Regions from separate parts of the Homo sapiens genome. Here all the other regions are linked to region 1. Evidence: promoter capture Hi-C in 16 types of primary human blood cells and fetal thymus (Javierre and others, 2016). All regions are on one chromosome and are shown on one strand. Each heading gives the region's core, a stretch centred on a gene start or on the middle of the fragment in contact. The rest is flanking DNA. Distances are from core to core; before and after follow the strand shown. Region 1 holds the start of H4C12 (H4 clustered histone 12). Region 2 holds the start of TRS-AGA2-1 (tRNA-Ser (anticodon AGA) 2-1). Region 3 holds the start of BTN3A2 (butyrophilin subfamily 3 member A2). Region 4 holds the start of BTN2A1 (butyrophilin subfamily 2 member A1). Region 5 overlaps LOC285819 (a long non-coding RNA gene). Region 6 holds the start of TRT-AGT2-1 (tRNA-Thr (anticodon AGT) 2-1).

Evidence for each region. Contacts are between HindIII fragments. The CHiCAGO score rates a contact against its expected background, and 5 or more counts as called.
Region 2: a fragment that was not itself captured here is called in contact with the fragment with the promoter of H4C12 in region 1 in 6 of 17 cell types (monocytes, non-activated CD4 T cells, activated CD4 T cells and 3 more); the score reaches 9.5 in monocytes.
Region 3: a contact is called between a fragment that was not itself captured here and the fragment with the promoter of H4C12 in region 1, in 2 of 17 cell types (fetal thymus and activated CD4 T cells). The highest score is 5.9, in fetal thymus.
Region 4: the fragment with the promoter of BTN2A1 here is called in contact with the fragment with the promoter of H4C12 in region 1 in 4 of 17 cell types (neutrophils, naive B cells, monocytes and 1 more); the score reaches 6.7 in neutrophils.
Region 5: a contact is called between a fragment that was not itself captured here and the fragment with the promoter of H4C12 in region 1, in 8 of 17 cell types (fetal thymus, activated CD4 T cells, total CD4 T cells and 5 more). The highest score is 8.6, in fetal thymus.
Region 6: a contact is called between a fragment that was not itself captured here and the fragment with the promoter of H4C12 in region 1, in 4 of 17 cell types (monocytes, M1 macrophages, naive CD8 T cells and 1 more). The highest score is 8.2, in monocytes.

Annotation. Positions count from the first base shown.
Region 1 is chr6:27,828,535-27,833,508 of GRCh38, forward strand. It overlaps H4C12 (H4 clustered histone 12), which reads right to left and starts at 3,026. Exons shown (of 1, transcript NM_003541.3): 1 at 2,640-3,026. The coding sequence starts at 2,993. The coding sequence ends at 2,682. RefSeq lists enhancers at 1-206, 2,477-2,586, 2,510-3,335. The HindIII fragment of the contact is 8,845 bases long and covers 1-4,974 here.
Region 2 is chr6:26,324,440-26,329,413 of GRCh38, forward strand. TRS-AGA2-1 (tRNA-Ser (anticodon AGA) 2-1) reads left to right here and starts at 3,150; the gene lies at 3,150-3,231. It overlaps TRR-ACG1-1 (tRNA-Arg (anticodon ACG) 1-1), which reads left to right and starts at 3,701; the gene lies at 3,701-3,773. It overlaps LOC101928743 (a long non-coding RNA gene), which reads right to left. Exons shown (of 3, transcript XR_241992.5): 2 at 4,571-4,648; 3 at 434-724. The HindIII fragment of the contact is 3,995 bases long and covers 1,099-4,974 here.
Region 3 is chr6:26,360,908-26,365,881 of GRCh38, forward strand. BTN3A2 (butyrophilin subfamily 3 member A2) reads left to right here and starts at 4,291. Exons shown (of 11, transcript NM_007047.5): 1 at 4,291-4,445. RefSeq lists enhancers at 119-168, 4,249-4,298. The HindIII fragment of the contact is 1,103 bases long and covers 1,407-2,509 here.
Region 4 is chr6:26,455,507-26,460,480 of GRCh38, forward strand. BTN2A1 (butyrophilin subfamily 2 member A1) reads left to right here and starts at 2,449. Exons shown (of 8, transcript NM_007049.5): 1 at 2,449-2,636; 2 at 3,101-3,212; 3 at 3,975-4,322. The coding sequence starts at 3,131. RefSeq lists enhancers at 2,060-2,319, 2,480-2,639. The HindIII fragment of the contact is 11,033 bases long and covers 177-4,974 here.
Region 5 is chr6:26,472,318-26,477,291 of GRCh38, forward strand. It overlaps LOC285819 (a long non-coding RNA gene), which reads right to left. Exons shown (of 4, transcript NR_038992.1): 3 at 3,835-4,974. It also overlaps a transcript of BTN2A1 not described here. Among named protein-coding and RNA genes, the nearest start is that of BTN2A1, 17 kb to the left of the region's middle. RefSeq lists enhancers at 1,518-1,567, 4,624-4,974. The HindIII fragment of the contact is 1,320 bases long and covers 1,856-3,175 here.
Region 6 is chr6:26,528,357-26,533,330 of GRCh38, forward strand. It overlaps TRT-AGT2-1 (tRNA-Thr (anticodon AGT) 2-1), which reads right to left and starts at 4,634; the gene lies at 4,561-4,634. RefSeq lists a cis regulatory region at 4,348-4,974 and a silencer at 4,517-4,606. The HindIII fragment of the contact is 5,099 bases long and covers 225-4,974 here.

The sequences.
Region 1 (4,974 bases), core at 1,776-4,275:
AAAGTTGTCAGATCTGGAATTGCTAAGTGGGCCTAAATAAAATTTTTTGCATATAAATAATGTTTCTCTTTAAGATGTAAAAAATAATATATATATTTTAACTATGTATGTCTATACATATAAATATATATATATATGTATATATATATATATATTTTTTTTTTGAGACAGAGCCTTAGTCTGTCACCCAGGCTGGAGAGCAGTGGCAGGATCTCGGCTCACTGCAACCTCTGCCTCCTGGGTTTTCGTGCCTCAGCCTCCCAAGTAGCTGAGATTATATACGCAGGCCACCAGGCCCAGCTAATTTTTGAGTATTTTTAGTAGAGAAATTGCCTCACCATGTTGTCCAGGCTGGTCTCAAAGTCCTGGCCTTAAGCAATCTGACTGCCTCATCCTCCCCAAGTGCTAGGATTATGGGCATGAGCCATCGCACCAGGCCAAAAACACATTTTTAAAGTTAAGACTTAAATGTTGTTTTATAATTTTACACCACCAAAGTGATGTGACACGGTGAAAAATTTAAAGCACAATCATAAGAAGCAGATTATTTGCAACCAAATCTGTAACAATAATATTCTACTTGTGGGATCTTGGGTTGAGGTGCATATGCTCTCTAAGCCTCGATTTATTTTTGTAAACAATTATGTGATGATGATAAAAATAGTTCCCAGCTCTAAGGGTTGTTGTAAGGATTAAATGAGTAGGGCCGGGTGGCTCACGCCTGTAATCTCAGCTTTTGGGGAGGCAGAAGTGGGAGGACAGCTTGAGCCCAGGAGTTGGAGACCTGAAAAAAAAGACAAACAAGTGTAAATGAATTGGTAAATAAAAAACACTTAGAACACTGACAACAGTAAGTGCAGTGTGAAACACTTAGCATTACTTTTATGCCAAATTCATAACCTGTAATTGCATCTGACCATCATCCCTGGGTAAGAGCAATCTTTTTTTTTGTTTTGTTTTGTTTTGTTTGGCGACACTCTGTCACCCAGGCTGGAGGGCAGAGGTGTGATCTCGGCTTACTGGAACCTCTGTGTCCCAGGTTTAAGCGATTCTCAGCCTCAGCCTCTCAAGTAACTGGGATTACAGGTGTGTGCCACCACGCCCGGCTAATTTTTTGTATTCCTAGTAGAGACGGGGTTTCAACACATAGGCCAGAATGGTCTCCAACTCCTGGCCTAAAGCTGTCTGCCAGCCTTGGCCTCCCAAAGTGCTGGGATTACAGGCATGAGCTACTGCATCGGGCCCAGAGAGCAACCTTTTCTAACAGCCACATTTTAGTACTCTAGATTCAGCCAGGAGTTGTGTAATTAAACCTTTGTCTATTATGAAATCATAGGAAATACCTGTGTCAAGTGCATTTTTTCACACAATTTTTGCAAATGGAGACATCTTCATTATTCCTATAGTATCATATGTTTTTAAAGTTTGTACTCACACTTTGGGTGATAAATGAAGGACAAGATCCTTCCCTATCCTTGTGAGGATGACTACAGCATGACTGGATGGGCTTGCTATGATTTTTATCTTTCCCTGTGTTCTCACTACCGTTTTATTAATCTCAGTTCTTTTTCACAGGGTAGCACAGAATTTAACTAGCAGAAAGAGATCCAGCCATGTAGACCAGAGATTTGTCTAAGTGACGGCATGTAAGAATCAGGAAGGAAAGTTTTTTGTTTAAATACCAACAGGTTCCTTCCTTAAAGCAATTATTATTTTTCAAATCTAACCCACAAGGTGATAGTATCCTTAAACCAATTAAATCAGAATCTCGGGTTGGATAACCTCAAATATGACTTATTAGCACTTCCCATTAATCACTGGTCCTTCAGGCCTTTAAGTTTACTTACTAGGAATCTCACTTTTAATACCATCTTATCAACTTCAGTTGTAAATAAGAGAACACTCAAAGGCTGAGGAATTCTCAGCGGTAAAGCTCTGCCCACGTTAAGTAACAAAGGATAAGTTAGTCTTTGTTGTGATCACTTTGTTGTACTGATAAGCTACGTATTTCTACTCAAGGATTCAAATTCTCACCTTTCTCAAGAATTGGGCCAAAACCGATAAACTAAACTTATTTACGGTCCACTGATTAAAGGTTGTTGCATAATAAGTTCTTGCTATGTTCAGCAGTTGGATTCACAGCGCCAGAAACCTATAACTGCTTGACTTTCCTCCCCACTACACTGCGAAAATTGCCCCTTAAATGTAACTAACCCTAAAACCTCAACAGTATCGTGGCCAGGCGTGGTGGCTCACTACTGTAATACCAACATTAGGCATAGGCGAGGGGATTGAGGCCAGGATATCGAAACTAGCCTGGGAAACACACGGAGACCCGGTCTTTGGAAAAATAATTAGCCTTGCGTGGTGGTGGGCGCGAGGTTCCGGCTAATCGGGAGGCTACAGTGAGCCATGATGACACTGCACTACAGTCTGCGCGACGGCCCATGTCAGTAAGCTCTGGAGCACCTGAAACAAGTTGTGTTGGGTATTTTATTTACTGGAGAGCGATTAGTGACTGATGCCTACTTACAGCGACTAGAGACGCATGCTCCGATAGCAGCACAAACTCAGCAGGCGCGAACAAATGGTAAAGAGAAACTGGGCAAACAAGCATCACGGCTCCTCAGCTGAGAAAGTGGGGGCCCTAAAAAGGGCCTTTTGTTGATAGAAAGGGACGCTCAACCACCGAAACCGTAGAGGGTGCGGCCCTGGCGCTTGAGCGCGTAGACCACATCCATGGCGGTGACCGTCTTGCGCTTGGCGTGCTCTGTATAGGTCACGGCGTCCCGGATCACGTTCTCCAGGAACACCTTCAGCACCCCGCGAGTCTCCTCGTAGATGAGGCCGGAGATGCGCTTCACGCCGCCGCGGCGAGCAAGGCGCCGGATGGCCGGCTTGGTGATGCCCTGGATATTGTCGCGCAGTACTTTACGGTGGCGCTTAGCGCCGCCTTTGCCAAGACCCTTCCCGCCTTTGCCGCGGCCAGACATGACGAGCAAGAGGAGTCTCACCCAACGCTTTGTGAGGACTCTGGCCTGAGGCAGCGCCTTTATACGACAGTTGGCGGACCGAACTGAGAACCTGAAAGAAGTCGGCGGGAAGTCCCGCCCCGGTGGGGGAGGGGAAATCTAAAGGGCCAAACCGAAATAGGGGGAAAAAAAAAGCGAGCTTCTTGTTTCCGTGTTCTGAATTTTGTAACGTGCATAGTATTTTGTTACCACGTTATGAGGCTTTAAAAAATTGCTTTTGAACGCAGAAGATATACATCAATACTGTGGGAAATACAAGAAAGGACAAGAAATTAAGAAACTACAATGTTATCCCATCACACAGGCTAGTTAATCATGTATTTTGCAGAGCAGTTGCACATATTTTTCCAAGAAAATGTATACAGTGTTGTATATGGAGTTTTGTAACCTCCTTATATTGATTATAATTTAACCAATTTCTATTAAAGAGATAAAAGTGATGTTTTGGTGTCTATGTTTCTTAGGAATTATCAATAGTTATAATCAGTTCCCCAGCAATTTTTTAATCGGCTGTATTTTAAAAATAATGTTTTCCACATTCAACATAAATGTACTTTTTCTCTATACTTGGGACCAATATTGAAATTTATGATTTTATTACACCAAAATTTAAATTTTATTACATTAATATTTAAAATTGTATTAGAGGTCTCATGATTTGGTACTACGGGTCTCCGCATTATTTCCTTTCCAAATTTCCTAATCTGTTTCACCAAGGTTTCTGGACAACTTTAGAGACCTTTTGTGAAGTTTGAATAAAATCTCTTCGAGATTTTGATAATTGCATTAGCTTTAGGACTTAATTGGAATAGAATTAAAATCCTTAAAACAAGCTCTTATAACTAGAAAATTGGTGTTTGTAGGTTTTGTGTGTGGGGTTTTTTTTTTTTTTTGGAAGGAGTCTCGCTCTGTCGTCAGGCCGGAGGGCAGTGGTGCAATCTCGGCTCACTGCAACCTCCACCTCCCGGGTTCAAGCGATTCTCATGCCTCAACCTCCGGATTAGCGCGGACTACAGGCATGCGCCACCACGCCCAGCTAATTTTTTGTATTTTTAGTAAAGAACAAGTTTCACCATGTTGGACAGGATGCTCTTGATCTCTTGACATCGTGATCCGCCCGCCTCAGCCTCCCAAAGTGCTGGGATTACAGGCGTGAGCCGCTTCGCTTGGACGCTTGTAGGTTTTTAAAAAGACACTTTTATATGACCCAACTAAAGATTTGTTATCAACCATTATGGAGCAACTTTGATTCCGTATATTTGATTTTCTTTCTTATTAATAAATACAGGGTTATACTCTGAATTTTTTTTTTTTTTTTTTTTTTTGTGGAGACGGAGTCTCGCCCTTTCGCTCAGGCTGGAGTGCAATGGCCCAATCTTGGCTCACTGCAACCTCCACCTCCCGGGTTCAAGCGATTCTCCCACCTCAGCCTCCCCTGAGTAGCTGGGATTACAGGCACTCACCACCACGCCCGGCTAATTTTTTTGTATCTTTAGTAGAGACGGGGTTTCACCATGTTGGCCAGGCTAGTCTCCAACTCCCGACCTCGTGATCCATATGCCTCGGCCTCCCAATGTGCTGGGATTACAGGCTTGAGCCACTGCGCTCGGCCACTCTGAAATTATTTTAACATCAATGAAAATTATAAAACTCCTATAACTATTCTAATATAATCTCTTAGTATTCAATTCTTTGTTTAGAAAGTAGTTAAGAGTTGAAACTCTGGAAATAGAAAACTTTGGTTTTAGATTAAATGTTTACCTTTCAGACTCGAGCTGACTTGTTACCGATCAGACACGAGGTGACTTGTTTATTCTTTTTAAATCTTTGCTCATCTACAAAGTTAGAATAGGATAGTGACGGTACTGTTGGGGTGCAGAATGATTCCCCAAAATGTGGTTCTTGGGCATGCTGAGCGCTTTTGAACATTGAAAGGCCTCAG
Region 2 (4,974 bases), core at 1,846-4,345, 1.5 Mb before region 1:
CCTAAAATTCCGGAGTAGCTGGGATTACAGGAGCGCGCCACCAGGCCAGGCTGATTTTTTAAAATCTGTTTTGTACAGAGGCACAAGAGAAGGGCTTGTTTTGTTACAGGTGCTCTCAAACCCTGGGGTCACGAAATCCCGCGTCAGCATTCCAAAACGTTACAGGCATGAGCCACTGCACCCAACCAGATATGAGATATTTTTAAAGAATTGCTCGATTGTTTTAGTTTTGTTCATGATATTGTAGTTAAATAAAAGACGCATGTTTAGGCGACACATGTTTATGGATTTTGGTGTTCTATATCACAATGTCTGCAAGTGAGTTTCATATGATTCAGTAGAAATAGGTAGATGAGGCTAAGACGGCAAAATGTTAATTATTGAATGTGGGTGATGAGTATACAGATAATTGCCTATTCTTTCACATTCTTTATATGTTTGAAAGTTTTTACAATAAAAAATTTAATTTTTCAAGAAGGCTTGACAGAGGCTGTGCTATTTTTAAAAAGGCCTTGAAGGATGAGCTCTGGGGCTCCAAGCAAACATGGCAGAGGTCAGGGCGAAGAAACCCGCACCATCTGAGATAGGGCTGGTCCTTTCACTTCTCAGGAGTTCCAGGCCCCCTTGACAGAGTGACCAGAAGAGGAGCTGAAAAGGTCGGACAGATGCAGAAGATGAAGGCCTCCCATGTCATCTGCGATCTTCTCGCTAGGCCACAGGGTACCTTAAAGGCATTAAAGGAGGTAAGGGACACAGTCAGAAACACATTCTGGGTTAGTGCTAACTTAGCTCTACTTACATAATCTGCCCTCAACTACATTTCCGGTGTTATCTCTCATCAATGCCCTTCCCAGTACCCCTCCAAAAAGCAATGTTTCAACTAGAGGGAACTTTCTTCAGTTTCTCCCATATTCCTTGAGGTTTAGGTTTGGAACACTACCCTACCCCGTTTTCTCACCCCACACCAATTTGTCTCATTTTAACACATCCTTCAGATCCAGATCTGAGCTTAAGTATAATTCATTCCAAAAATACTTAATTAAGCACCTATGGAGGACTCAGAGGTAAAGAAGGTAAAACTAGAACCTTTCTTCGTGAAGCTTGGAGTCTAAGTGACCCTCCAGGCAACCACCTAAAACCTTTGTGGTTGAGATCCAGAACTCTTTCTGTGGGCTACTTACTGTGTTAGGGCTGCACTTCTCACTTGCACTCAGTTGTTTTATTGTTAACTTCTGTAATCCTTTAGAAATCTCGCTCTCCATTGAATGAGCAGTACCTAGCAAAGTGCTTGGCTTTTGCTATTTCACATAAAAAGAATTTGAAAAAAATAGGCAATTCTCTGTCTCACTACCCATATACAAAGTGCTTATTTTTATTCTAAAAAAATAAAATTTTTGGAAGAATGAATAAATGAATATATTATTTAAGGGATCAGGAACTGGAGGCCAAAAGACTAAGAAGTTGTTGCAATAACTTAATGAGAAGTTTCTCATGAGTACTTCTAAGTACCTAAACTAAGTACCTCATTTTAAAAAGTGGTCTGAGTAGCTGGGCATGGTGGCACGCGCACCTGTAATCCCAGCTACTAGGGAGGCTGAGGCAAGAGAATTGCTTGAACCCGGGAGGCGGAGGTTGCAGTGAGCCAAGATCGTGCCACTGCACTCCAGCCTGGATGACAGAGCGAGGCTCCGTCAAAAAAAAACAAAAAAAAAAGGTGGTCTGAGGGCTGGGGAAGAAGAGCCAGATTTGAGAGCTAATTAGAAGGTTGAATTGAGGGCCTGCTGGGAAGGGAATCAGAGAGACATAAAAGGACAAGGGTAGTCTTCGGTCTTGGTAGCCAGTCTTCGGTTTTGGTATCTCATCAAAAATTTGGATTGTTGGAGGAAATTTAAGTTTGAGGAAAATGATGGAACATTCCTTTGGGGTTGCATTGCTTTTGAGATGCCCATGGACATGCAAGAAAAAAAAATAGGACAACTGTATATTCTGGAGCCCAGAGGAGAGAGATCTGGAGTAGAGACGATTTTCAATCCATCCGCACATGAGCAGTAGTTCATCAATCATTCCTTACCCTTCTTCTGTTCATAGAGTTGGGCCATTGATGAAATACAGAATCCCTGACTTGCTCACTAATACTCACACACACACACACGCATAGTATTGTGGTAATGGTAGTGCAGTTTTAGAACCTGGGGTTCTGCTCTTCCTTTGGAAGTGGTCTTTGAATATAATTTCAAACTATTCACAGAATATCAGATGCAGTTGTTCTTCCCCTTGTGAGAGAAGGCCCCATAAACGAAAGAGGATTTGACCAGCAAAAATATTTTTTACTTTCTAGTTTCTTTCAGAAATGTTCTTTCAGCTGGTTAAAATATTCTGAGTTTTATGAAAAGACAGAAGCCTATCTTCACTGAAGAACCTTTTGATGAATCTAGATTCTGGGGTTTTACAATGATAGTTACAATTGTACTGACATTTGTTGAGCCGTTAGTATATCGCAGGCACTGGACTTTGTCAGAAAATATAGGGGATCTCTGTGGAACATCAGTGTTATTTACTGAGGATAATTTTCTTTCTTTTTATTTTTTTAATCTATTTTTTATTTTTTTTTTACCCCCGAGACGGAGTCTTGCTCTGTCGCCCTGGCTGGAGTGCAATGGCGCGATCTCGGCTCACTGTAAACTCCGCCTCCTGGGTTCAAGCGATTCTCCTGCCTCAGTCTCCCGAGTAGCTGAGATTACAGGCGTGCACCACCACCTTGGCTAATTTTTTTGTATTTTTAGTACAGACGGGGTTTCGCCATGTTGGGCAGTTTCAAACTCCTGACCTCATGATCTACCCGCCTTGGCCTTCCAAAGTGCTGGGATTACAGGCGTGAGCCACCGCGCCCGGCCTGAGGATAATTTTCTTACTAGGCAAAAATATGAGAATTGTAAAAGTTGTTGAAACATATTCCTGATTTGCATTATAAAAAAGACCCAAAGAACATTCTTAGCGTATCATGTATGTGCCTGAATTTGAAGTTTGTTGATTGCTTCCAAGTTTTATTCTTAAGATACGAATTCAGCTATTATTAAATCCCTAATAAAAGGAGTACAATATGTGATGTATGGAAACATGTAAGACATTTAATAAGGTTTTTGGTATCTGTAGTCGTGGCCGAGTGGTTAAGGCGATGGACTAGAAATCCATTGGGGTCTCCCCGCGCAGGTTCGAATCCTGCCGACTACGGCAGTGGGTTTTTGCATCTTCAAGCAGGTTTCATCCGACCGATCGATATTTCACGTGTAAAAAGGCTTTCGATCTTTTACAAGTTAACATCAAAATGGATTTCTTGGGGATTCAGGGCAGGACAATTTCAATTTATGTCTCAGAGGTCCTCAAAATGGATTTCTCATTGCCCAAAGTAAACCTTATCTCTGATCTTTTACAAGTTACATCATAATGGATATTTCATTGTTCAGGAAGGAATCATTGTGCACAAGGATGGATTTCTCATTACCCACGAAGGAATCATACTTCATGAGTAAAACAAGTCAAAGGAACAAATAAAACTATATTTTGTTTTAATTGGAGGGTTTTGGGTTCAAAATCCTTATGATCAGAAAGAAATAAAATTTCATATATTCATGTATAGGAGGACGCGGTAATCCCAAAACGTTTTTTTCTATAGGTATAACGCCTGTCTTCGTTCGTCAGAGGGCCAGTGGCGCAATGGATAACGCGTCTGACTACGGATCAGAAGATTCCAGGTTCGACTCCTGGCTGGCTCGTTCGACTTTAGTGGAAACTTTGAGGTTTACATAAATGCCCCTTCCCTGGGCACTCATATACATTTTATGTATTTTATCATTTTAATTTTTAAAAGAATTACACAAGATGACAAAAATTTTTATAATATAGACTCCAGCTTCAGTTCACTATTGTTTTACATACATAAGAGTTTTTTTTTTTTAAATCACATCACTAAATTGATAAGTTTCAGAACTGACCAATTTTCACATTGCTTGATAAAACTTAATACAGGGGAATTTTTTTTTCTTTTTTTGAGATGTATCACTGTGTCGCCCAGGCTGCAGAGCAGTGGCGCGATCTCAGCTCACCGCAACCTCTGCTTCCTGAGTTCAAGCGATTCTCCTAGCCTCAGCCTCCAGAGTAGCTGGGATTACAGGCATGTGCCACGACACCCAGCTAATTATTTTTGTATTTTTAATAGAGAGGAGGTTTCGCCATGTTGGCCAGGCTGGTCTGGAACTCCTGATCTCAAGTGATCAGCCCGCCTCGCCCTCCCAAAGTGCTAGATTACAGGCGTGAGCCACCACGTCCGTTTGGGAAAACCTTGTGTCATTCTGTGAGAGTTACGATTGAGAATTCACAAACAGAAAATTTCTAGATAGCAAACAATTTTGGTTTCTTTTCTATCCTTTTCGCATACTCATAATTTCAAGAATCACTTGAAACAAAAATCAAGTCTCTTCTCTGCTCCCTGTCCTCTAGCAATTTTTAAAGTTATTGAAACATATTCCTGATTTGCATTATAGAAAACACCCAAAGAACATTCTCAGCTTACCACATATGCGCCTGAACTTGAAGTTTGTTGATTCCTTCTAAGTTTTGTTGGCAGGACGTGAACTCAGCTATTAAATTCCTGGTAAAGCGAGAGGTACAATATGTGACATATAATAACATGTACGACGTTTAAGAAAACTTTTGGCACCTATAGTCGTGGCTGAGTGGTTAAGCCTACTTTTTAAACATTTAAATAGCTTATTTTAAAATTATTTACCTACATATCTCTAAATAATATGTTTGTATGGACCTTCTGTTGACTTTATATAAGAGGAGTAACTGGTTCACTTTCTTCTTCACACCCCAGGACCCCCGACACACACATGCTCCCTTTCTAAGTCTTCTCATATGGTTATAGCACAATACATGATACTTTAATATTTGTAGCTTAAAATATGACAACTT
Region 3 (4,974 bases), core at 708-3,207, 1.5 Mb before region 1:
TTTCCCCACATCTCAGATGGTGCCACAGTCTACCACCTCAGAGAGAAAATAGAAAAGGGAGGTCCCAAACTTCCTGCTCCACCACCTATACCTGTCCCTCATGATCTGTTTCCTCTGATTTCAACAAGCAGGTGTTCTTTCTCCTGTCTCAGGCTAATTCTGCACCCACATCGGGGAGCCCCCACCCCAGCTTCCCTCAGGCTTCTCTATTTGGTCAATTCATTAATTCATTCATTTGACAAGGATCCATGAACGCTAACTATGTGCCAGTCACTATTCTAGGTGGTGGAGTCACAGAAGTGAACAAAACAGAAAGTTCTCATTCAAAAACAACATAACTTGTGGTAGGAGGCAGACAGGAAATGAAATAATTAGTAATATATATGGTGTGCTGGATGATGATAAGTGCTCAGGAGAGAAATAAACCTGGAATAGCAGAACTTGCATTTCTTTTTGAAGGGGTCTTGCTCTGTTGTTCAGGCTAGAGTACATTGGAGTGATCATAGCTCACTGCAGCCTAATTTTTTTTTTTTTTGAAAGACAGAGATCTTGCTATGCATACTGCCCAGGTTCTTGAACTCCTGGCCTCATGCAATTCTCCTCCCTCGATCTTTCAAGGTCCTGTGATTACACCTGTAAGCCCTCGTTCCCGGTTGGAAGTTACAGTTTAAAATAGGGTGGTTATGAGCAAGGGGAGCGAGGCACAGAATACTTGGGAGAAAAGCATTCCGAGTTGAGAGAACAGCAGTGCCAGAGCACAGAGGCAGAAGCACTGTGGTTTGTGTGAAGAAAAGCAATGAGGCTGGGGTGCGCAGAGCACACAGGGTGATCAGGAGAAGAGGAGGTGACAAGGCCAGAGGGGGTTGAGGGCCAGATCATGTATGGCCTTGAAAGTCATCATGCTGACCTGGGCTTTACCTCTGAGAGGGGAGCCACTGGAAGGTTAGAGCAGAAAAAGGACTGGACTGACTTATGTTTTAAGAAGTTACTTCACATGCTAGACCAAGATGGGCTGTGGGTAGGGGTGGTGGATGGAGGCCTGAAGACCCAGCTGGGAGCTACTGCAGTGATCCAGGGGAAAGATGCAGATGACTTGTACCAGGGAGGAGCCATGAAAATGTTATGATGCTGGATTTATTTTCAAGATAGAATAAAAAGGCTTTGCTGATAAACTTACAGGTGGGGTGTGAAAAAGGAGGGCATCAAGGGTGACCACAAGGTTTTGGTCCTAAGAAACGGTACAGATGGAGTTGCCACTTACTGAGATGGGGAAAATGAGGGAGAAACCGCTTGTGGAGGCCAGAGGAGGAGCCAGCACAGAATCCAAAGGTCAGTTTTGAATATGTTGGGTTTGAGGAGCTTACTAGAGATTCCCGTGGAGATGTAGAGTAGGCAGGTCAATAATAAGCTTGCAGTCCAGGCAACGGGTCAGGGCTGGAAACACAAGTTATTCTCTTTGTCTTCTTTATATTCATGTTTGTTGCCACTGTGTGTTTCACTTACCTAATGCATTCGTGATTTATTGCTGCATAACAAATTACCACAAACTTAGTGGTTTAAAACAGTACACTTTTCCAGCCTGGGCAACATGATGAAACCCCATCTCTACTGAAAACGCAAAAAATAAAAGATAAAAAATTAGCCCAGCGTGGTGGCACACACCTATAATCCCCGCTACTTGGTAGGCTGAGGCACAAGAATTGCTAGAACCCAGGAAGTGGAGGTTGCAGTGAGCCAAGATTGTGCCACTGCACTCCAGCCTGGGCAACACAGCGAGACTCTGCCTCAAAAATAAATAAATAAATAACAGTACACTTTTATCACTTCAGTTTCTGTGGGTCAGAAGTCCAGGCAGAGCTTAGTGGGCTTCTCTGCTCAGAACTTCACAAAGCAAAAGTATTATTCATGCATGTAAACCTCTAAGCACAATACCAACATCACGGTAGGTTCTATGTGAGTATAAGCTATTATTAAGAATAATAATCAATCCTCTTCCCTCTCCTCCATCCCTAAGGCCTCATCATTTCTTGCCTGGAGTGTCACAGTAGCTTTCTTCCTGGTCTCCTTGTCTTCTACCATCTGATTCTCTAATGAGGACTGGCTATATTGTGTAATCATAGCGTCATCATTCCACAGAATACAATGTAAATGGCACTCTTACTTCCCATCTTCCCTGGCACCTTTCACACTATTGTTTCCAATGTACACATTTTCTCATGCCATTTTTAAAAAAGATTTTCTCTTCACCTTCAAACTAAAACTCCAACTCCACAACAGGCACCAGCTGATACCGAACCTTTCATAATGGAAAATAATGACATTCATAAAGAGTTAATATGTGCAGGTGCTGTGCTAGGTTCTCCCCAAACAACTTAAGAAGCAGGTCACATCCCTACCCATAGCTGAAGAAACAAAGACATTGAGTGAGAAATGAACTTAGGGGTCTCATAGTTTGGAAACTACAAAGTTCAGAGATATGAAGAGTTGGGCTCAGAAACTCCTAATCTGAAGCTTAGCACATTGGCTGCTTCTTTGTGTCAAAGTGACTTGGACCCTCCAGGCAAAGGTGGGATGTTCATTCTTACTAATACGATCTCAAGCAGCACAGCTTCTGATAGAGTCTGAATTTAAAAATAAACAAATGAACAAATAAACAAATATTGATGGATGAATAGGGGTGAACAGCAGGATGGATTTATAATAAAGTAAGAAACTAAAATATTAATTATACAATCTACATGGTAGATATATTGGAATTTACTGAAATTCTTTCACCTTTGCTATATGTTTTAGAAGTTTTATAATAAACTGTTGGGGAGGGGGAAGGGGGAGGGAAAAATTGTGTTTTTCTGTTGATAACAGAGACCAGAAGTACCACTGGCTTAAATAAAACAAGGATTTGTTTTCCTTTCATGAAAAACAAACTTATTTGGAAATTTACCCTGAGTACTAATATATAATAAAATATTTTAAAAGAAAAAATTTTTTAAATAAATTTAGATGGTGACAGTCCAGGGCTGATCTGGCACCTCAGATATGTCATTCATGCCCCAGCCTGCTTCTGACTTCATTCTCTGCTGTCCCAGTGTGTGGCTTCCAACCTCAAGGCTGCCTCATGGTCCCAGGGTGGGCTACTGCACCTCCGGGTCCAAAGTCCATGTTCTAGGCAAGAGGAAGAAGGAAGAAGGGAGAGTGTACCCTCACACTCCCAGCTATTTTGGCCTCCCTTTGAAGGATTTCTGGGAGAAGTACAAGCCCACAACTTTCACCTACAAACCGCTGGCTCCAACTTAGTCCCTTGGCCTGCCCTATCTTCAAGGGGGAAGAGCAGGATGCAGTACCCCAGAAAATTAGGCCTTGTCACTAAGAAGAAGGGGGCATGCACGCTGCAGAAGCAACCAGCCATCTCAAGCAGATACCACACAGCCTAAATTCAAACTGTTGCAATATAATCAAATCCCATCAGCTCCAGTCACATATTAGCTCTAGGAGATTTCTGGCTTGCAGCCCAAAAAAGTGTGTTTTGAGGTCGTAAGCCACAGGGAGAACAAGATTGTCCCATAAACTCCTTACAGAGATGGTGTACAGGAAACGAGCCTTACAGAGACCACAGCCTATGGAGTGTCTAGCTTCAGAGAATATGTACTCCACTGGCAGCGTGAGAAACAAATACCCAAGAAAATACAATATAGCACAAACCAGGAGCTGAGGGTGAATGAAGATGCTCAGAAAGATCTGCAGTAAGAATTTCCTGGGAAAGGTAAAACAATGTCAAGCAGCACTGCCTCTGGAAATCAGAAAAATTATATTATTTGATACCATATCCTAAGCCTAAATGCCAGAAGTTCTTAAAGAGGTGCAGTTTGTCTCATTTTCTTTCCATTCATACCTTTATTAGGCTCTGTAAAAAAGATCCTCCTCTTCTACGTACCTATCTACATGCAAGCAAACTGCCACAGAAGCATCTTAATTAGTGCACATCTTCCTCTCTTTGCACATTAAATTTTTTTACTTTCCTACTCCATTCTGCTAATATTTCTATTACCATGTAAAAGACACGAGACAGGTGAATATAAAGAAATACTTATATACATCCACGCACAAGAATGATTCAAATAGATAAACACAGAAACACAAACACTAAGGGAGGTAGGGCTGGAGTTTTTCCTCAACGTGTACAATTCAATGTACTTTCAGTTTTCATTTCAACGTTCCTCAGTGGTTTCTGCCCAGCAACTGATGAGAAACATCACCTCTGAGCCAATCAAAAAACTAATTCTTCCAAAGAGCGACTCTTACTGTTTCTCATGGTGAGAAGACAATATTTGCTTTCTCTTTTTCCTTTCTTCCGGATGAGAGGCTAAGCCATAATAGAAAGAATGGAGAATTATTGATTGACCGTCTTTATTCTGTGGGCTCTGATTCTCCAATGGGAATACCAAGGGGTAAGTGCAGGAAATTGATTAGAGCCTGGGCTACAACGCATGGGAGGAGCGGGGCTGAATCGCTGAGAGTGGTGAGTGGGCATGCAGGGAGAGTACTCTCCCAGAGAAAGGGGTGCAGTGCCTGTGTGTGTGTGTGTGTGTGTGTGTGTGTGTGTGTGTGTGTGTACATGTGTACATGTGCACACTCGCACATGCACATATGGGCACGTGGGAAGACGGGAGAAGTACTGCAAAGTATAAGGAACTGCAGAGGTTGGGATTTAGTGGAAGGAAAGGGAGACAACATGAATGAAGAAATATTCCAACTGCATGTTCTTAACGTATTGTGGTCAGAAAAGGGCAAACAAACAAACAAACAAAAAACCCTTAAAATCTGTTCTGGCCAACTCAAGGCATCTATTCTGAGAAATTCTGAAGAAGAAGAAGAAAAAAGAGATGTGCCTCATAGATTTATATGTAAATGTGTTTATTACAGAAGTATTTATAATATAGTAAAATCTGAACCAACATACATATTCAACAGGTGGGG
Region 4 (4,974 bases), core at 1,199-3,698, 1.4 Mb before region 1:
GAGAAGACCAAAGCAGATGAGCAGAGAGAAGGCTACAAGATGGAAAGAGTTTAGGCAAATTTCTCACGTTTGGTTCTTTTAGAAGCCCAGTATCATTTCTTCTTTTTGAAAAAATGTGTTCTTTTGAGGCAAGATAAATGTACTCGTTAATATTGCTTGTAGTCCTAATATTCAGAAGCTTATGCAACTATTATAATATGTTCAGTGATTCTGTGAGTCAGGAATCTAGAATTTGAACAGGGCAGAGTAGGAATGGATTTTCTGTATGTCAACATGTCTAGGCCTCCCCTGGGAGTACTCCATAGCTGGAGATGACACAGCTATATTACCTTCACAGACTGTAGTTTATTGTAAAGCAAAAGGAAATCAATGCTTACCCTGTATCCTGGTTCTTCCAGGGTTGGCAGGTCCATAAAGAACCTTGCCAACGTGACCCTTCCTGTCTCTATCCCTCCCACTACAGAGCATGATTGGGTTAGGTTGTTACTATCTAACCGGGCACACCCCAGTAGAGCCTGATTTCTTTCTAAGCTACCCCATCGTCAACTGATCCTCTTCCTTCTCAGAACACACACGTTTCCCTCTAGCTCAGATCAACTTTGGCAGAGGCTGAAGCCTGGCTTAGCTGGATGCTTCTGGCAAAAGGGCTACTTCAAAGCCCTGGGCCTTATTTCTTCAGGTAAAAAAATATAAAGTCAGATCTCATCCTGGCTGGCCATGCTGTTAGACCCTTTCATCCTTCTCTTCTGCCTCTTCTCAACAGCTGCCCAGTCCTGTTTGGAATTCATATACATACAGTTCTAATACTGATGTATTTACCCTCATAAGCCACTCAACCCAGAATCTTATTTGAATTATAATCCAGAAACATCAGGTGACGTGTGAGACTACTGTATGAGAAAGAGACAGTTTAAGGGTCAGTCCAATGGAAAAAAGAGTTCTCAGAGCTTTCTTTAGCTTATTCTCATCAAAGAGCTTTCTCTGCAGAAGGAACCTACTGGTTCCTCCTTTCCAGTCCTAGAAATCCTGACCTAGAGTGGCTTAATCCTGCTAGCACCTCTCTCTCGCACTCTGGTGCCAAATGACTCCAGGAACTGGGCCATGATGTGGTGGGAATGACCTTACCCTGAGCATGTCACTCATGCATTGAACAACAGCTAAGAGCAGAGCTTAGAGCTTAGAGCTGGGCCCTGTAAGGTGAGAGGAATCACATCCTGCAGAAGTCTGTCCTGAGAAGCAGGTACTCCTGTCACAGCAGAGACACAGTGGATACCTGAGTAACAATAATACAAGACAGGACGTGGGAACAGCAAAAGATTTGGGTGTCAGAAGAGGCCGAGAACACTTCAGGCAGGAACATTCAGAGTTGTTCTTGGAGGAAGTAGGCACGAAGGCTGGGCAGGATTTCACGGGGCAGAGATGGAGCAAGCAATTGAAATGAAAGCCATGGCATGGGAAAAGGAGCACTGGCCACAGGGAGTGCAACGTTGTGATGCAAGGCCACTGTGGAGCCATTGCTAGCGTATTAACTGCAAAGTTTTGAATTGAATCAGAAGGGAATTGGAGGCCTCCAGACTAAGCATTTAGACACTTGAGGGGAATATTGACAACTGGGCCTCGGGAAGATTATTCTGGAAGATATCTTTACAATTACAAGATTGGAGCCTTTGGGAGAGGGATGATGTTTACGGGAGGATGGTATGTGTGCTAGTGTGTGTGTCTGTGTGTGGCTCTTGGACCCAACCTGACCACCTACTATCTAGAAGGTGAAGGACAACTAGAAAGTTTTGCTCAATTCCATCTTCTGCCACCACCAGAATGCCACCTCCCTGAGGGAAAAGGTTTTTGATCCTCAGTCAGGATTCTCAGCACCTCTTATCCGATAGCTTTGGAATGAATGGCAAGGCCTTCATAACAGCCACTGCAACTGCTGTCTCCTTTCCTTTGCTACCCCTCCCGCTCCAGCCATGCCAGCTTCCCCCAAGCCCTCCTGCGCTCCAGGCCCAACCTCCAAAGCCAGCAACTTGAACAGGAGTCCTCTGGCTTTGGAAAGGGGGCGGCTTACGTTTTCCTGCTCATGTTTCCTCCCCAGCAAAATTGCCCTCTACATAGAGAGGCCTCTCCTTGTGGACACCAGCAAAGCCACCGACCTCAGTGACAAACCCCAGGGAATCTCCCCAAGGAATCTCAAAGCGAGAGAGAGAGAGAGAGTCTTGAGAGAGAAAGAGAGAGAGAGAGAGTCTTGCTTTCGAACAAAGAAAAAGGAAATAAAAAGACCCGATAATCTCAAAAGGTTATTTGCTGCTTGAAATTTGTGATTCGGTGTATTCTACCCAGCAACTGCTGAGAAATAAGGTTCGACACCATTGGCTGGTTCACTCACACCCGGCCAATCCTGGGCTCTAAAATACTTAGGGAACTCTTGGGACTGTGGAAGCCCAGGAGACCAGATTTCGTTTCCTGCATCTCCAAACATGGCGACCTAGGAGAAGGGGAAGAACAATTTTTTCTCCTCTTTTGGGAAGGTTTGTGTCTAGTAGTGCCTGTGCCCCTGGGCAGATTGGAGAGAAGAGGGACGACTGGAGAATCGTCGAGAACCAGCGGAGAAAAGAAAAAGCAACGTTTAATTCTAGAAGGTAGGAAACGGAGGGGAGGCGCTACAGCTCCGGGGTGGGCACAGTAGGTGGGGGAAGCGGGGTCTGCTGTGGACACGAGACGGGGTCCTGGGACAGGGAAAGCCCACCGGTGGGGAGGCGCGGCCTCGCCTGTCTTTGCCTCAGGCTGCCCGGCCTGGGTCGCGGGGAGGAGGAAGTGAAGGGAGGAGGGTGTGGTAGAATCCAGCGACAACTGAAGAAACTGCATTCTGGCCAGAGAAGTGAGCCGAGGAGGGCGGAAAAAGGCCCCCTTGATCTTGGCATTGATGGCTTACTTCATGGAATGTTTAAGGAATCCCTCTCTCGGGACATACCTGAGCCTTCGGATGCAGGGGACTCCCTGAAGTTGGGGCACTGATGAGACCTACTTGAGTGACGGGAGAGGTTGGGCCCGACCAGCACTGAGGTGCCAAGACTCCTAGGCTGATTCTCCTCTGTAACCCTAGGCCTCCTGTCCCTGCCTGCTCTGGGTGCTCATGGAATCAGCTGCTGCCCTGCACTTCTCCCGGCCAGCCTCCCTCCTCCTCCTCCTCCTCAGCCTGTGTGCACTGGTCTCAGGTAGGGATGTGTGCCACTTGCTGCTGTCACCTATCAGAAAGGAACATCAACCCTGTAGTCTGCAAAGGGAAAGAAAGAAGGACTGTGGAGTTGTTGACTTACCCTTTCATTCTGAACATGTTCATTGAATTTATACCAGCACTGTCCAAAAGGAATACAGTGAGGCACAAAGGCCGAGTGCATGTACAATTGCAAATTTTCAAAAAAAATTAAATTTTACTTTTTATTTTAAAAAGTAAAAAGAAACATGAAATAAATTTGTATACTATATTTTGTTTCGCCCCAAATAATCAAATACGAATATTTAAATACTTAGTTAATATACCATATTACCAATGAGATAGTCAACATTTTGAAATTTTAAATCTTCATAATCCTGTGTGTATTTTACACTTACAGCTCATTTCAGTTGGAACTAGCTAGTGGATATGTGTCCTATTGCACGGCTCAAGTTTACAGTACACTCAGGCACAGCACTAGATTGGGAAATCGAGGAAAATCCCCTCAAGGGCACAGGGTGGACAGAGGGTGCTCAGGGCAGGTTCCTCAGGGTTTCCTTCATGAAGCAGAAGCACACTTTATAGTTACTGCTCCCAGGGGTGCTGTCGACTAGCCACAGCTACTGGTCCCCAGATTTCTCAGCCCAAAGAGACCCTATGGCCATGGAAAAAATAAGTTTGTCCCTAGAATATCTGCTTCCTTTCTTGCCTTAGAGATGTGATGGCTGGTGTCTTTGTCTGACTCTACCCCTTTGTTGAACAGCCCAGTTTATTGTCGTGGGGCCCACTGATCCCATCTTGGCCACGGTTGGAGAAAACACTACGTTACGCTGCCATCTGTCACCCGAGAAAAATGCTGAGGACATGGAGGTGCGGTGGTTCCGGTCTCAGTTCTCCCCCGCAGTGTTTGTGTATAAAGGTGGCAGAGAGAGAACAGAGGAGCAGATGGAGGAGTACCGAGGAAGAACCACCTTTGTGAGCAAAGACATCAGCAGGGGCAGCGTGGCCCTGGTCATACACAACATCACAGCCCAGGAAAACGGCACCTACCGCTGTTACTTCCAAGAAGGCAGGTCCTACGATGAGGCCATCCTGCACCTCGTAGTGGCAGGTGCGTCGCTTCATTTTGCTTTGTTACTTTGGCACAGTGTGACTTTGGGGAAAGTTTCTCTCCTAACCTCAGGCCCATTGCAGACCAGCAAATTTTTGTCTGGACTCCCTTTTCCACTCTCCCTGTGGAAACGGAATTCCAGGGAAAAATCCTTCCTCCTGCACAAGGGACACATGAGTGGGTTTGCCCTGCTAAGCTAAGGGCTTCACTTCTTGAGAAGCACATGCAGAATTCAGCTGAGGCCGTGAGCAGGGGAAAATGGTCAGTCTCGGAAGAGAAGTCTTATACCTGCCTTAGGATTGAACTGTGCACTTCTTTTGGGTTTTTTTTTTCTTTTTGAGACAGAGTCTTGCTCTGTTGTACCCTCGCTGGCACGATCTTGTCTCACTGCAACCTCTGCCTCCCAGGTTGCACTTCTGAGAGTGAGAGGAGACACTGTCAATAATTGTTCCAAGACAACTGGAATAAACTGATTACCCAGAGAACTACAACATATCAAATCTTATTTCTTGATAAATATTAATCTTTACTTCATCTTTCCCAAAATGCTGATTGCAGAGAGAGTGACTTATTGTAAATAGATGGTTTTATTAAACCAAGACGAAATACAGAAGCAAAATTATATATAGTTCCTGCTAACTCCATAGAGAAA
Region 5 (4,974 bases), core at 1,266-3,765, 1.4 Mb before region 1:
CTTCCCCTGTCTACAAATGAGATGGACACCTTGCAATAAGAAAATGGGATTTTATTACTGAGAAAAGTAGATCTGTTATTGAACAAGCAGCCAGCCAACTCTACCACAGAGCCTAAATTCAAACTGTTGTAGTATCATTTTCTACCAGCCAAGGTTTCAGCTAAGTCCTAGGAGTTTTAATTACTTTAAGGGTCTGTTTTATAACATAAACAAATGATAGGCCTTTATATTTTATTTGTGACCCAACTAAAGTTGCAAGTGCTAGTGATACAGGATTTTTATTTGTCACTTTGCAAGCAGGGGACCTCTGGCCAGCAACACCCCACCCAAGCCTCGCTTGGCTAAACTGGCATGCCCCAGCTCACCTGTGTTATAGCTTATACCCACGTTCAGCAGTTCCTGAGCTCTTGTACCATGCCCAAGAAGAATGAGGATACACTAGACGTTGAAGGGTGAGGAGGGCTGAGAAGAATTTTATCAAGCGACTGAACAGCTCTCAGCAGAGAGGGGATGCTGGCACCCCTACCTGAAGGCAGGAAAGCTCCCCCTGTGTGGCTGGGTCCAGGCCTGTTTTATGGACTCAGAATGGGAAGTGTGTGCTGAATGGTTTGTGAGTATGCAAAAAAGGTTAAAGTGAAGACACCACTCAAAGATGGCCACAACAGTGTAAAAAAACAATTAGGAAAGTGTGGGTATATGGAAAGTAGTTGAAGGGTGGGGACCAATCAGAGGAAAGTGCACCAAACAGGAAGACAAGTTCTCAACAAGTTCTCAATTTGGGCTGAGGATTTACCTTGTAGTTTGGCTTTCAGGCTTTAAACTGTCTTCAGCTTGGAGGTGGGGTATCACTGGGGACCCATTGCTACCTGCCTAGGCATCTGACTGCCTCCTGTCTGCTATCACTAGGTCCCAAGGTTTGTAGCAAGGACCCCTTACAAAGACATCCCCCACAGTCTACCCAAAGGTTAACCTTAGAACATATTTCATTGTCAGAGTGAGAAACAAATACACATGAAAATACAGTATGGCACAAATAAGGAGCAAGAGGTGAAGAAAGCTTCAGTCACACCCAAAATAATTTTGTGAAAAATATAAAATATGCAGTTATAGACAGCACTAACTCTGGATACCAGAAAATTCTATAATTCGGTAATGGATCTGAGACCTGAATTTTGGAGGTACTAAAATAGATGCAATAGATCTAGTTTTCATTATGTTCATACTTTCATTTGGCTCTGTGGTAAAAGATGATAATATCCAAAACAAAAGATGATAATATCCTCCATGTAACAATTACATGCAAGGGGATGTCTGCAAACTGCCACAGTATCATTTTAATTAATACCTATCTTCTCTTCTTAAAATCTTTTCATTTTTCCACTCAGTTCTCCTGATATTTCTGTTATGATATAAAAGACAGCTGAATGTGAAGAAACACTGATTGTACACGTAACACACACATTAATGATTCAAATATGTAAACACAGAGAGCTGCAAACACTTTGAGAGGTAGGGCTGAAACTTTTCGTCAATGTGTACAATTCAATATCGTTTCAGTTTTCATTCTAACCGTCCCCAGTGGCTTCTGCCCAGCAACTGATGAGAAATGGTACCTCTGAGCCAATCAAAACACGAATTCCTACAAAGAGGATTCTCTTAGTGTTTCTCGGACCGAGTGTACAGCACATGCTTTCTTTTCCTTTATTCTGGATCAGAGAATCTTAACTAAAGCAGAAATAATTGTGTTAAATTAAACTAAATTTGGTATGAGATATGTATACATTTAGCCTGAGGGATGGCTCTTGAGCCCTTAAATAATGAACTGCAACCTAACTTAGTATGTAAACTAACTGAAAGCTTAAGGCATGGGAGTATACTTTTGTAACAAATAGCTGAGTCTCAGCCAATCCCAGTAGCCGAACTTCAGTCGGCGGCAGTCAACCCTGCAGCCAAGTGATCAGACTATGTTCAAATAAGGCCAACTCTGAGCTGTAACCAATTAAGCTGTTTCTGTGTGTCACTTCCCTTGTGGAATGGAGCTCACTGAACCTCTCTGATGGCTGCCCGATCGTTCTGATGGTTTGCAAATTGTTCTTTGTTCAAATTAAACCCTGCTAAATTTAATTTGTCTAAAGTTTTTATTAACAACAGAAAACTATTGATTACCTTTTTTTGTGGGCTATGATTTTCAGATAGGAATATTAAGGAGTAAGTGGGGAAAATTGCTTAGAGCCAGGGCTACAAGGCCTGGAAGAAAAGGGACTGAAAAGCTGAGAGGGGAACTGGCACAGAGAAAGGGGTGAGGATGGAGAGGGTAGAATGCAAAGAGTAAGGACCTGAAGAGGCTGAGATTTGGCTGAAGAGGGACAACCTGAATAGAGAAACCTTCCAACTGCATGTTCTTAGGAACTAATTACAGTCAGAAAGGAGCAAAGACTCCTTTTTTTTTTTTTTGTCAGAGTCTCACTGTTGCCCAGGCTGGAGTGCAGTGACACAATCTCGGCTCACTGCAGCATCCACCTTCCCAGCCAAGCAATTCTCTGGCCTCAGCCTCCGGAGTAGCTGGGAATACAGGCATACGCCACCACACCTGGCAAATTTTTTGTATTTTTAATAGAGACGGGGTTTCACCATGTTGGCCAGGCTGGCCGGCCAGGCTGGTACTGAACTCCTGACCTCAAGTGATCCACCCACCTTGGCCTCCCAAAGTGCTGTGATTACAGGCATGAGCCACTGCCCCCAGCCAGGAGACGAAAAGACTCCTAAAATATCTCCTGGTTATGTTTAGGAACATATTCCAAAAGGTTCTAAAAAGAGATGTGCCTTAAAGATTCATATGTATATTGTAAATTTTCAACTCCATATTTTCTAGATGTCCCCAACATCCCCACAACAGCCCGTCAACACCCTGCCCAGGTGACCAAGTACACCAGTGCAACAGGGCTGGTTCCTGCCTGCTTGCCCTTGCTTAACTGTGACCTAGTGACCTCCTCCCATCTTTTGATCTTTATTCCTCTAGTTCACTTCCTTTGTCACTATCTCTCCACCCACACCTACTTGCCTTAATCACCTTAACAGCAAAGGCTGAATTATTGTAAACAAAAGGAGTCTGTCTTTTTAGTGCATGGGTCCCCAAGTATGTATATATGAATATGCAATGAACCCCAGGATACTAAGCTTCACTTAAGGATTTTTTCCTACAAGGACTCAGCTGTCACATTTGGGGGCATTTTGTTTTGTTTTGTGAATGTTTAACCAAGCTAATGGAGGAACTATTGGTACAATGAACTCAAAAAATGTACAGGATCAGCAGGGCATAGTGGCTCACGCCTGTAATTTCAGCACTTTGAGAGGCTGAGTTGGGAGGATCACTTGAGCCCAAAAGTTCAAGATCAGACTGGGAAACATAGTGAGACTTCATCTCTAAAAAATTAAAATAAAATAAAATAAATACAAGGAAAAAAGAAAAATGTACTGGATTGAGGGGAAAAATTTATGATGCAAACAGAAGAGCATTTATGATTGAAGTGAGAGAAGGATAATGGGGGAGGATGGTGAAAGAACATCAATCTAAATTTATATTTAAATTTACATGAATCCAGTGCAGGCAGCATCTCAGGGGAGGGAGGAGTCTATTTTTCTGTTGATTTCCTGGGCTAAATTCCTGACTGACTCATTGCTGAAAGTAAATAACATATTATTATAGTTGAAAGATTTTTTTTTAGTGTAGTGATTTCAAACTGTGCTCATTTATATGCAACCCATGAACGCCTCCCTTCTCCTATGTCTCCTTTTGAGTTGTAGGGCCAGTTTGAAGCTTTATATATCATTTACCAAACTTAGGGTGGTGAGTGGGTGCTGATGGCAGCCTGGTTTGAAAATCTCCACTGGAGAGAAGACACAGCAGGATTCAGATGCAAATGACCAGAGCACTCCAAGTTGGAAAGAACTGCTGAGCGGGTCTGTAGAGCCCATCGCTCTCTCCTGTCTATTCATCAGCTAGGCTGAAGCTCCTGACAGACTCACACCAGTATCTTGCTGCTCCAGAAAGGTCGAAGATGGCAGTTTTCCCAAACTCCGGCTTGCCCAGATGTCTGCTCACCCTCATTCTTCTCCAGCTGCCCAAGCTGGTTTCAGATAGGTCTCTCTCTCTGGCCTGCAGAGTTAAAACATCTCAATAAATATAAAGTATAAAAAGAAGCTGGAGCCCAACCACTTCGGCACATGTTCACAGGATCTCGGGGCTGTGTCACAAGCCACTGGGCACTCATATCTGGCTGAGAATAAATCTCTTGCAATATTTTACAGAGTTTGACTCTTTTTGTTTGACAAAATAAATTCAACTCATAACTGCTGAGTTTGGGCTCTGGGCTGTGGAGTTGTCTGGAAATGGGTGCTGGGCTCCCACTGCTGCCTTTCACTCAAGGCCCCCAGATATAGCAACCATCTCTTAGTATGTAAAGATCTGATCTCAAATCATCAGGAGCTTCCAGGTTATTTCATTTTCCTTTTTTTCTCTTCTTTTCACCGATGTTTGACGTCCAGGTTATTTCTAAGGTGACAGAAAGAAGCAGAACACTTTCTTGTGCCTGATTGATCAGTTGATGTTTTGTAGGCGATAGGATTCAGATAGTAACAGTCCTCCAGTGCGTCCTTCCCACTCTCATTTTCTTCCTCCTCCTCCTCACATCTCAGCCCCAGAGGCCTATTGAAGAATTTCTATTCATTTTACAAAGAAGCTCCTGAAATTTTTATGTTAGTTTTGTCTTTTTATTTTCCTCCTTCTTCTTCTTCCTCTTTTTCTTCTTCCTCTTCTTCTTCTTCACACCACTATACAAAGGAGGAAGTTTAGTTTTGTCTTTTACTTTAAATTACACAAGATTTTTTTTTCTTTCTCTCTCTGTCTCTTTATTATTTTAAATTGTTTGTAGAGATGGAGTCTCGCTCGAACTCCTTAGTTGGCTCAAGTGATCT
Region 6 (4,974 bases), core at 1,524-4,023, 1.3 Mb before region 1:
CAGAAAAAACACTTAAAGGTGCTTGGAAGGCCAGCAGATTAGTCGAATTCAATTCAGGCTGCCTAGGCCCATCTCTGGACGTTGCCACTTGCCAGCTACTTACCTTCCAGGAAAGTGACTTTGCATCCTTGTGCCTCAGTGCCCTTCTCTTTAAAATGGAGGAAATAACTGTACCTTTCCTCATAACTATGCAGTAAGGATTACATGACTTGGAATATGTAAAAAGCTTAGAAGAGTGTCTGGCAAACAACAAATGCCTGATACATTGTATTTTTTTTTTCATAGTTGAGTACCTGCTTGTATTAGGGTCCTTCAGAAATACCGAACTAATAGTCTATCTATCTATTAACTATGTATGTATGTGTGTATGTATCTATCTATCTATGCCTGTCTATGGAGAGAGAGACAGTAATTTATGATAAGGAATTGGTTCACACAATTATGGAGGAGGCTGAGAAGTCCCACAATCTGCCATCTGCTAGCTGGAGCCCCAGAAAAACAGGTAGTGTAATTCAGTTTGGGTCTCAATCAGGCCTGAAAGCCCCGGGAGTCAACGAAGTAAATCCCAGTCCAAGAGCAAGAGGAAAAAAAATGAGATGTAAATCAGTGGGGTAGGGGGAGAAGAGGTGAATTCCTCCTTCCTCAACCTTTGTTCTATTAAGGCCCTTAACAAATGGGAGGGATCATACCCGGGAGGGCAATTTGCTTTACTGAGTCCCTGATTCAGATGATAATCTCATCCAGAAGCACCCTGAGATAAGGTCTCGCTCTGTCACCTAGGCTAGAGTGCAGTGGCACAACCAGGGCTCGCTGCAGCCTCGATCTTCTGGGCTCAAGCATTCCTCCCACCTCAGTCTCATGAGTAGCTGGGACTACAGGTGCGTACCACCACACCTGGCTAATTTTTAATTTTTTTTTTTTTGTAGCGACATGAGGGCCTCACTATGTTGGCCAGGCTGGTCTCAAACTCCTGGGCTCAAGCGATCCTCCTACCTCGGCCTCCCAAAGTGCTGGGAGTACGGGCATGAGCCACCAAGCCCAGCCAGAAACAATGTGTAATCTGAGTATCTAATGAACCACTCTAATTGACACATAATATTAATCATCACACTGCTGTTGGCCAGGCCCTGTGCTGGTCTCTGGAGATACAGCAGTGAAGAGGACAGGCACAGCCCTTGCCTTGAGAAGTAAACAGGCTAGCTCAGACAGATATGAAGCAAGTAGATGAGCATCGCTACTTAGAATGCAATGGGAAACACAGTCCCTTCTAGCTCCACCTGCCCATAGGAGAACCTCAGCAGCTGAGCTAGAGGCCCTACTTAATCCACAACTTGTAAATTCAAATGCTATCCAAACTGCTTTGGTAAGGCATTGTCTTTTTAAAAGAAAGCATGAAACACCTGACACTTATCAACTGCCAAGTCAAATGTTCTCCGCCTATCTCCAGACAAAAAACAGTTTTAAGACTTGCACATACCCTCACCTAACTGCTTTCCACTTATCTGAACTGAGCATTCTCTTCCTCACCTTTAGTTACACACTGTTCCCTTTGCCCAGGGCATCTATTCTACTCCTCCCACGTCTATCCTCTTTCCTTGACAAGTTCTGTGTCTCCCTCATGGCTCAGTGTGGGTATCACTTCTTCCATAAAGTCTTCCTTCCACCTTCGCCCAATCAGGGTTTTTGTTTGTCTGTTTTTCTGTTTTGTTTTGTTTTTTTCAGCCTCAACCTCCTGAGCTCAAGAGATCCTTCCGCCTCAGCCTCCCGAGTAGCTACGGCTACAGGTACACACCATTATGCCAGGCTAATTTATTTTATGTAGAGATGTGGTCTCACTATGGACTATGTTGCCCAAGCTGGTCTTCAGCTCCTGGCTTCAAGTGATCCTCCTACCTTAGCATCCCAAAGTGCTGAGATTACAGAGGTGATCCCCACTGCACCCAGCCCCACACAGACAGGTTTGTTTTCAAATGAGGCTGCAGGCCAGCGCAGTGACCCATGCCTGTAATCCCAACACTTTGGAAGACCTAGGCCAGAGTATGTCTGGAGCCCAGGAGTTGGAGAACAGCCTGGACAATATTATGAAACCCTATCTCTACAAACAAAACAAAAATCACCTGGACGTGGTGGCAGACCCATAGTGGCACACACTGGTAGGCCTAGCTACTCAAGGAGGCTGAAGCAGCAGGATTGCTTGAGCCCAGGAGTTCAAGACTGCAGTGAGTTAGGATTGTGCTATTGCACCCCAGCCTGGGCAACTGAGCCAGACTCTGTCCCTAAAAAAAATAAATAAATAAGCAAATGTGGGGCCGAGCGTGGTGGCTCACACCTGTAATCCCAGCACTTCGGGAGGCCGAGGCAGGTGGATCACTTGAGGTCAGGAATTCGAGACAAGCCTGGCCAACATGGTGAAGCCCGTCTCTACTAAAAATACAAAAAGTAGCCGGGCGTGGTGGTGGGTGCCCGTAGTCCCAGCTACTCGGGAGGCTGAGGCAGGAGAATCGTTGAACCCAGGAGGCAGAGGTAGCAGTGAGCCAAGATTGCGCCATTGCACTCCGGCCTGGGCAACAGAGCGAGACTCCATCTCTAAATAAATAAATAAATAAATAGGCAAGTGTGGCTCAAAGCACCCTGTACTCCCAATAGTATTACATCCCACTATACTATAACTGCCATTAAATTGTTCTCCCTTCCCATCAGCCTCTTCACCCATGTGTGATTAGCATGGTAACTGCCACATAGTAATTGGCCATTGACAAATAGCCACTCACTAGACAAACAAGCATCTGATTGCAAACCATTTCCACTTTTACACATAAATTGTTTCCATGATGTATCCATATATGGAGAACTAGGAAGACATAGGCTTTTGGGAAAGATAGTGAGACTCATCACCTGGAATATTCAATAGCTTCAGTAGCCAGTACCACTACTGCCAACTCAGTGTACAGACCATGCAATCTGTTGAGGGCCACTTGGCCACAAGCCTCCTATAAAGGTATTTCTGGAGCTGATGGAGCAGGAGAGTGGAAATGAGGCAGGATTGGTAAGGGGATGAATTAGTGATTTAGTGTTGACATCTGCACCAGTGACCCAGCCTGTCTTATCATTTGAGGGAAGTTTGTATCTGGGCCTAGGGAAAAAGAACAGAAGATAGAAGGCTCTAGTGAAAAAAAAGAAGGGTCTGCCTTTCCATTGGTGCTTGATGTTTATAAAGAAAAGTGGGGAATTGGCCGGGGGCGGTGGTTCACACCTGTAATCCCAGCACTTTGGGAGGCCGAGGTGGGCAGATCACCTGAGGTCAGGAGTTCAAGACTAGCCTGACCAGCATGGTGAAACCCCGTCTCTACTAAAAATACAAAAATTAGCCGGGCATAATAGTGGGCGCCTGTAATCCCAACTACTCGGGAGGCTGAGGCAGGAGAATTGCTTGAACCCTGGAAGCAGAGGTTGCAGTGAGCCAAGATCACACCACTGCACTCCAGTCTGGGTGACAGAGCGAGGCTCCGTCTCAAAAAAAAAAAAAAAAACAACAACAAAAAAGAAAAGTGGGGAATTAAGCTGCGGAATGGGAGTAGAAAGTCTCCATAAAAGTAGAGTTGCTTCTGAGCTGTTCCTCCAAGTGTTGGGATTTTGTCTCCAGAGCTAGAACAGGAAATCATATTGCAAGCCTTGACAATCTACATAAAATAATATGCTCTGAAAGCAAAAGCCAGAGAAGTGGAACTTTCTGTGCCAGGTGAGCTGTGGGCTGGGTCTTGGGAGATGGGTGAGAGGGTTGGTAATAGTTACAGTGAACTTCCATTTCCTTGGTCTTGTGTTTCTATGTGGAGAACTTCTGCTAAGAGTAAAACTGACTTCTTTCCTACTTCTCAATTTCTCTTTCTTCCTCTTGGAGAGTTTGGGAGAAGGCATCTCAACCCTTCCTGGACTTCTTCAAGTCAGCCTGTTCTAGTGGGCCCCATAAGCAAATGGAGGCTTCTCTGACAGCTTCTTTTCTCAAGTCTTGGTGACAAATATTTGTTTTTGCTTTGATTTGTTCCTTTCCAAAAAACTCTGAGTACAATGCAATCTTTTTAAATAGCGAATCACAGCTTGTTTTATGTGGCCAGATCTTACTGTTTGCTGTGAATTTTCAGAGATGCTACAGCCTTCTCAACAACAGATTATGAATCATTCCAAAGATTGACCTTCTAAAAACATTACCTGCAGATTCTGACAATGAATCTGTTTAGGATTTCCCCAGGAAAGAAAATAGAATGACTAGAGATTATGATGTTGCTTGTAGTTTAAATTTGGTGTTTGCCTTCTGCTTTCCCTGGTTCCTCTCGTACATGTTGTAAGATATAACATGTGGAAGAAAAGTGTAAGAAAAGCAAGAAATTCAGAATTTCATTATTCTGAAAGAAAGCCAAATTTATCTTTGCTTCTTTTTCGTAAACAAGGAGGTTTCACACCGGACGCATATAAAACACTTTGATGGAGCCCCATAGGGGAAAATAACCTTTCACGCATACTTCAACTGTTCCGTGGGTACTTTGAATGCAGGAAAACTACAACAGGCCCCGCTGGGATTCGAACCCAGGATCTCCTGTTTACTAGACAGGCGCTTTAACCAGCTAAGCCACGGAGCCACCATGCCTGCGGTGGTACAAATGAGCATAGAAAAGAGATGATCTTTGCCTTTGTTCTGTGCATTGATACACTTTCTTGTTACTGAGGTTTGAAAGTAGCTACACGCTTCTTCAGACACTGAAGATTAACCTTGGCTTCGCCCCAAAAGACCTAAGAAACCGCTCAGCTGCAGGATAACGAGGTTTTTCGCGTGGGGGAGGTGGGGGGTGAGGGAAAGGCTGGCGATAGCCTGACCCCCGCCCCGGGGCGAACAGGAGAGTCCTCCGAGAAACTGCCTCAAATAGCAAGCAGCTCATCCTAACGTGGATAAAGTATGACCTCGGGCTTCAGGGAGAAGAG